2 separate regions of the Homo sapiens genome follow, and region 1 is linked to region 2. Evidence: promoter capture Hi-C in 16 types of primary human blood cells and fetal thymus (Javierre and others, 2016). All regions are on one chromosome and are shown on one strand. The core of a region is centred on a gene start or on the middle of the fragment in contact, and the rest is flanking DNA. Distances in the headings are between cores, read along the strand shown.

Evidence for each region. The method cuts DNA at HindIII sites, captures the fragments that hold promoters and counts their contacts. A CHiCAGO score of 5 or more calls a contact.
Region 1: a contact is called between a fragment that was not itself captured here and the fragment with the promoter of SMCO4 in region 2, in 2 of 17 cell types (monocytes and M0 macrophages). The highest score is 5.9, in monocytes.

What each region holds. Positions count from the first base shown.
Region 1 is chr11:94,539,641-94,543,492 of GRCh38, forward strand. No RefSeq gene overlaps it. Among named protein-coding and RNA genes, the nearest start is that of FUT4, 2.4 kb to the right of the region's middle. The HindIII fragment of the contact is 1,891 bases long and covers 1,073-2,963 here.
Region 2 is chr11:93,540,768-93,544,654 of GRCh38, forward strand. SMCO4 (single-pass membrane protein with coiled-coil domains 4) reads right to left here and starts at 2,624. Exons shown (of 3, transcript NM_020179.3): 1 at 2,509-2,624. RefSeq lists silencers at 2,115-2,354, 2,485-2,534, 2,695-2,824. The HindIII fragment of the contact is 4,665 bases long and covers 807-3,887 here.

The DNA of each region.
Region 1 (3,852 bases), core at 768-3,267, 1.0 Mb after region 2:
GCATTTCCTGGTAAGTACACAATGTAGGAAGGGACTCAACTGCCTTTTTCTCTCTTCAAGGAAAAAAAATTAAAACATACTTAGCAGGCCAATGTTCAGACACAGAAATCTCAGAGCCAACCAAGGGTAACAACCCATTTGAGGGTAGCCTGAATCTCAGGGAGTTTATGCTGACAGAGCTTGGCTCCGCCTAGAAAGCTAGGCAGTCAGAACCTATTCTGGGGCTTCCATAGGAAATATCAAATCTGTCTCTGGTGAGTAACACTGGGAGAGCCTTTAAAATGAACTAGGATGGTCTTATTATCAAATGAACTATATCCTTGAGAAAGAATAAGGAATGAGTTCGAATTTTAGGAACCACAGTTGGCCTGGTTCTTGCTCCCAAAGAATTCTGTCCAATATAAAATTTTGGAACCGAATAGGTCACTTTTGGCATGTTGTGAGTTCATTGCTCATTCAGTGTCATAAATTAAGTCTTGAATTATGGAGCTCTCTTCTACACTACTTTTGCAACCCTCAGGGTCCAAAGACCCTTCTCCATGCCCATCTCATCTTCATGCTGGCAACTGAAAGCTAGTTCTTTCTGTGCAATATTTTGTGGAAACTGAGAGGCCTTTAAATGCACAAAGAATCATTTGTTACCAAATGTAAAAGAATCATGGACTATTCTTCCATGTTCGAAATCTAAGATGATTCAGAGTTCATTTAGTCCAGCCTCTTCATTGTAAGAATAGTAATATCTCCTTCCACATGGGTAGCAGACATGTTTTTGCCCACCTAGCATCCTTTCCCTCTTTTTCAGGTAACACCACCTCATTTTTTCTTTTGGGTAACTTCTCTCCCCGCACTGTTATTCAAGAATAACAGATTATTCCACATCTGTTATTCAGATGGGACTGATTCTAGCTCCAGAGGAGGGTCTAAAGAGAGTACCCATTCCCTGACCACAGTGATTGCTTCAAGAATGAGCACTCATCCCAGGTTTGGCCAATGACAGCAGTCTAATTTGATATCATTTCTGATGCCTGTTGCCAGGACTATGCTTAATACATGTACAATATTTTCCACTGAAAGCTTAAGGGACATTTCAAGGTCATAGCAAGTCATTCACATAGCCAAGATCTCCGGATGTCTTCTCATTTTGTAGTGGGGAAAGAGATACCAACAGATAATTTCGGTGATACATTAAGGGCATACATTCATTCAACAAATATTCACTACTAGAAACCTGGTTCCGTGGTGGGTGTTCAGGATGGAATTATGAATGAAACAGTCATGATCTCTGGATGTCCCATGATGTTCTGAAAGGTGCAGCATGTGTGAGAGTGCACAGGAGGGCCATGTAAACTACCCTGGATATATGTTTGTGGGTATCCAGAAAGGCTTCCCAGAGAAAGAAACCAGCCTCCTAAATCTCTCTGAATCTATCCTCCTTTAATTTTCTTCCTCATCCTCACAGCTACTGTCTCAGTTCAGGCCCTCTTTATTTCACATCTGAATTACAGCAATAACTTTCCAACTGCACACCACCACACCCCTACTCTTACCCTATTTTTACCCAACTCACTCTTTACTAATGACAGAATGATTTTTTCTTAGAAACTTTTTTCTAAAGTATAATGTCCACCCATAAAAGTACATATGTAAGCATACAGTTTGATGAACTTCCATAACCAAACACACCCATTAACCAGAGCCTACATTAACAGTCAGCATTCCGCAGCCCCCCCGTGTCCCCATCCATATACTCACCCTCCTTATACGTAATAAAAATAAGAATTCATTTTAAAAATGAATATCGCTTCCTTCCTTTGTTAAAGCCTTCCAAGGACTTTCTCGACAGCCTGCAGGATAAACACCATCTCCTTCGCCAAACTATACCCTAGTAATTCCTCGCCTACTGCCCCAGTCTTCCCTCCCTGGCCTCTGCAGTGCTGCTCCCTCTGTGGCAACTAACACCTCAGCCCTCTTCCTCTGCATTGTAATGATTCCTAATTATTCCAGGAGCCACCTCCTCAAAGCCTTCCATGATCCCTTCCCTCCCCACTATCTGTTTCTCTCGTAGATTTTTGAAGGTAGAAACCGTGTTTTGCATTTGTTTCCCAATTTGTTAAATGAACAAGTGAGTAAATTTATTAATTTCCCATAACTCCTTTCCTCCCTTTCCTTCTCCTCTACCCTACCAATGGCTCTTTTAAAATAAGAACAATCCAGTCCCCTGTGAATGTTTGTGCATGTATGAGATGCACAATGATCACGTATGACCTTCAACCAGCAATTTGCGAAGTCACGACTGGTTTCCATTCATCCAGACACACCTTACTACCTAGTATCCCCTCCTCCCACATCAAATAAGGGTATAGTAGGGGCAGTTTGTGGTCTCAACCCTACCGAGGTAAGAGGGCACAAAGAAAATTGATATGCATGAGACCTCGGGCATTCTTCAGGTAAAAAGATGGCTTAATTGGAACATTCGGAGGCTTAAGAGAAAATCGGGAGTGGTGGAAGGAAGCAATCAAGCAGGGTAATATTTCCCAAATGCCTACCGGCCACGTGCCAGACACAATGTTAGGCTCTATCTGTGATGTCTTATTTAACTGAAGAGGGAGAAGAATGTGAATAAATGGCTGGATTCTTGAATTGCATAAAAAGAGAAGCCAATACACTTTTTCCTTTATTTCGTTTAAACAAGTAATTTGTGCATTTATAGCTTTTTCTTTTAATTAAAAGTAAGAGTGGAAAAAAGTCACTGAAATGTCTAATTTCAAATAAAATATTTGATTTCTAATTTCTGTTTTTCAAACAAACAAAAAACCCCAGAAGCATTATGAAAGGTTTTACTGTGCAGGAGGAAATGTTACTAGGTTGATGGGCCTAGCCAGAACACCTAACATCCTCCATCTAGTCTCCAAACTGAGGCTGTGGCCCTGCAGAGAGCGCCACCCGGAAGCCACTTTTATAGAAGCTTTTACACACAATGCTTGATTTTTTTTTTTTTTTTTCCGAGACGGAGTCTCGCTTTGTCGCCCAGGCTGGAGTGCAGTGGCGCGATCTGGGCTCACTGCAAGCTCCGCCTCCTGGGTTGACGCCATTCTCCTGCCTCAGCTTCCCGAGTAGCTGGGACTACAGGCGCCCGCCACCAAGCCTGGCTAATTTTTTTTTATTTTTAGTGGAGACAGAGTTTCACCGTGTTAGCCAGGATGGTCTCGATCTCCTGACCTCGGGATCCGCCCGCCTCGGCCTCCCAAAGTGCTGGGAGTATAGGCGTGAGCCACCGCGCCTGGCCTATACTTGATTTTTAATGAAAACATTCTTAAATTCATATGGCTAACGCAAATTTATTTTCTGTAGGCATAACATCAAAAACACCTGGCAGGATTGCCCCATTCCCAGCACTGTCTATTTCTCCCCTAGTATCAGTGGGACTCCACTGATGCACAGCTGTGATCTACTAAAACTTCTCTCAAAACTTTCTCCTCTCCTTAGGTCAGCAGCCCCGCCCCTGATCTATTTGGAAATCCCCTGAATAAAAGTTGAATATCATAAACCAAAGCGAACACCCAGAAATTCAAATTCAACCCGTAGGTAAAAAATTTCTCAAGTGACTGTAGACGTAGATGTCTCCAGTGTCGCCTAATAAGGTAGAAGAGGCCAGTGCGATACTGTCTTTACACCCTTAACTTGGGTGCTAGAATATTTATCTTCGTCATCATTTTATCATCCAAACTATTTTGCATAACTTTCATGGGTGCAGAAAATGTTTTTTAAGTGCTTGGTAAAATTAATAGTGATATTCATTCATTCATCTCACTGAACAGGCAATAAATTCCTTGACGACAAGGGCCTTGGGGG
Region 2 (3,887 bases), core at 1,374-3,873:
TCTCAATTAAAGTAAAATTTATACACACACAAACACTAGATATTTTAAAGACTCAACCTAATTAATCAAGCCTTTACTTGTTGGAGAAGATATCATTTTTAACACTACCTCATCTGGTCTGAAAAGGAAAGTAGTTTAAAAAATATTTGGAAAAAATTGTTTAATAATAAAATACCACTACCTCAAACTCAGAGAGAACCACTAACTGCAGCTTCCAAAAAGCTGACAAAAAAGGATTACTGAAAATGATGTGGTCAAACCCAATATGGATTTTGAAAGCTACTAATGGACAAGAACAGGAACATTCAGTTATGACAAAATACACACACAAAAAAAATTCCTCTTCTTCCAGCACCATGGCTTGATCATTAATGTGTGGTGTGACCCTGGCCAAGTCACTTCAATGCTGTGATGGCCCTCAGCACCCAAAATGTCAAGGCCAGCTTATGACCAGGAAGCTCTAGTGAGAAGTTGCCCAGGGGGTCTAGGGGACAGGAGCGGGGTGGAGGGGACACAGATGATTGCCTGGAGCAATTTTTAATGTGCTGCCTCTAACTCACTGCTTGCCTTTTACTACACTCATCTGAAAAGAAATGAGAAGTCTGGGCATGCCAGAGGCAAGAGGAACCAGCTCACCACTTCTCAAGCCAGAATGGAAAAGATGGCAGAAGCATAGTTGTACAAGGACCCCAGCATCAGTCAGACAGAAGGAAACCTATAATATTATGCAATGAGAGACCCTGAGGATGTTCTTCAGACAAACCCCAGCAGGACCAATCCAACTCCAAGCTTGAGCGTCCACTCCAAGCTTGAAGATTAAACAATAAGAAAAAATTCGGGTCCACAGGTGAAATACACACTTTCTAAGCACAATGAGCAACTTTATAGTAGATAGCTGGACAACCAAGTACACTAACTGCAAGCATAAGAACAGTATTCATGTTGTAAATCGAGTACCAACTACTATTAGTTTTTTGTTGTTTTGCTTTTTGCAATATTTCTTCTCATATTTTATTTTAAATCTAAGCTAATTTCTTTATAAGAACAGGCTAAGGCTTATTTTCTGTGGCTGATCCAGCCTTACAAGAAAAAAGATTTCACTGTGTCCCTCAGAAACCTACTCCTGTCTACATCACACTGTCGAGCTCTCTCTTTATACCCCATGTGACAGATAAGAAAACAGAAGTCCAGAGAGAGCAAGTGACTCATCCAAGGTCAAACTTCTTGCTAACACATCTAGGACGAGAATAAGGGCTCAAGAAGCCCACTATGGGTCTCTTGCCGTATCACTGCTGCAAATGACCAGGCATACTGGTGTCTTGAATACAAAGTTTATTTGTAAAGGGGAAAAAAAAAAAGCCAACATGAGTCATCTGCATTGTCAACGGGCTCCACACAGGTTGTTCTAATAAAGCATCCAGCACCTCCAGAACCACTTGTTTCTGAAAGCACCAACCTACGCAGACACTAGCAGGCCATGTCTTCCACCCTTGCCACCCTCGAGGCTGTGAGCAGATGCGCTGTTGGGCTCTGGGGATCTAGAGGTGTCACTTAAAGAGCAAGGGAGCCTGGAGCTTGGCAGTACTGACTGGATGAGTGGATGGGTGGGTGTATGAGGACATGGGAGTGTTTTCTGACAGCTCCCGGAGATAGTTATGATATCATGCAGCCTAATCCCACTCATCTTGGAACACCCCAAACATCTCATCCGCTCAGCTGTCCCTCCTCAACTTCCTCAGGGCAAAAGCACTGCAGTCTGAGGTGAATCTGGCCGCTGGGGAGGGGCGGTAGTCGGCCCCAGCAGCAGAGGAAGCAACGCTCAGCTCCCTCCTCCACCCACCCCGTACAGGAACTCCCCACTGGGTCTTCAGATGCCAGAGGCGTACCCAGCTCGGAGCCTGCCCCGGGTCTCAGGGTCGGTCCCGAAAGAACGGGGGAGGAGGAAGGCTCTATCCCGCCCCCGCCTCACCTCTACTCCCCGACCCCCAGGCGCCGACCCTTCTCACCCGCAAGGTCCGCCGCCGGACTCTTGTCCACTCCCAGAGACCCTGAGCGCACCCCTTTCTCGGCGTCCTCAAAGGACCCGCGTTTCCCACCTTCCCATACGGGGCCCTCCCGGCCGCCCCGGCCCAAGCCCTTTGCACTGCGTCCCCCGGCCCCTGAGTCCGCCCCGCACCCGCACTTCCCGCCCGGCCCCGCGGGCTCGCGGTCCGCCCCAACTTTTCCCAGCCCCCGCCCCGCAGCAACCGGGATGCAGCGTCTCGAGCCGCGACGGGCAGGCGAGCTCGAGTCCCTCGGGCCCCCAACCCCGCCCGCACGAGTTGCGCTCGGGACCCGCCGGGCGCCCAGGCCTGGGTCAGCAGCACTGCGCGGAGGCGGAGCCGGCGTGGCGGGAACCGTACTGTCCCGGCGCCGCACCCCCGCCCGGTGCCCGGTGCCCCGTGCCCCGCGCCCGCCCGCCGGCTCGCCCGCCCCGCCGCCGCCGCCGCCGCGCCGCTCCCAGCCCACCTGCCCGCGGGCGCCGCCGCCGCCGCCGCCACCACTGCCGGGAATACGTGGCAGTGGCCGCCGCCGCTTGCGCTCCCCGCCTCGCCTCTCCTCTCGGCGCCCGCGCGGGCGACTCTGGCGCGCCAGACCGCAGCGCCAGGCGCCCTCTGCCGCCGGGAAGCCGAATCCTCCCGTCCTAACCCTAACTCGCTGGCTGCCCCCGCCCGGGCCTCGGCTCCCGCCCCCTCTTCCCCGTTCCCGGCTCAGACTGTCGCTTCCGAGCGACCTGGGTTCTCGCCCGGCCTGCTGCTGCCGCTGCCTCCAGGAAGTTCGCCCTGACCACCTCTGCAGGCTCAGCGCGCTTCCTCCGGCTCCCGCGCAGCGGGTGCTTAAGTCACCCCCTTGTTGATATATTTCCTGCTTCTTTGAACGCCTCGCCCGTGAGATAGCAGAATCGGAAAGGGGATAGTTGGAGGCAAACGCCATGTCTGTTGTGTTCACCATTCTCTCCTCCAGGGCAAGGTTAGCGCCCTGTCTGGAATACTGAAGTGCGCAATAAATACTTGTGAAGAGAGCAAACGAGTAGATGAATGAGTTGAGACTTTTACCGCTGTCTACCCAAGTAGGCTTTGAAACCTCAAGCGGACAGAGATCCTGACCTGGATTTGTTTTTTGTAACTTACACGTGCATATGTGTGCGCAGCTCAGCATAAATAAATGAGATTCACAATTCCCCACCTCGGACCAGCGCCAAATCCGCAAGAGGCCCACGGCTAAATGTTATTCAGGGCTTTTGGTCAAACACGTTTAGGTTTGAGATCTACCTCTTAAAAGCTGGGCAATCGCGGGAAAGCTCATCTCCCTGGCCCACAGTGAACACGTCTATAAATTAAGAATAATAAAACCTACTTCACAGAGTTGTGAGAATTAATTGAGATGGTGCACTATAAAGTTCTTTACGCAGCCCCGATGTGTGCGGTGGTATGTAAATGGTAGTTATTGTTGTATTACTACTGATGCAGTAGGTGATTTTAAAAACTATCTTCGAAATGTAAAATATTGACTACCTTTTCACCTTAAAACCTTTATATGTGTGGTATTGTCACCTGCTCAGCAAGGCCAGCCCGGGGAGCAAGGCCACTCCTGTAACCTCTTCCCCTCCACCGGTAAAAATATAACAAGTCTTGGGGTTTTTTTGTTCTGTTTTGAAGAATTGTGGAACCCACTCTTCTGCAGGTTTTCCACCTGGATTTCTGTGGCCAATCTCTTAATTAACAAGTTTTTATTTTAGGGATGTCAAAGACAGGGAGCCCTTTGAAAGCACCTGCAGTCTACTGGCTCTTCCTGTTTTCTTCCTGACCCTCTCTCAAACAACTTAAGGCTTTTTTTTTCATTTTTAC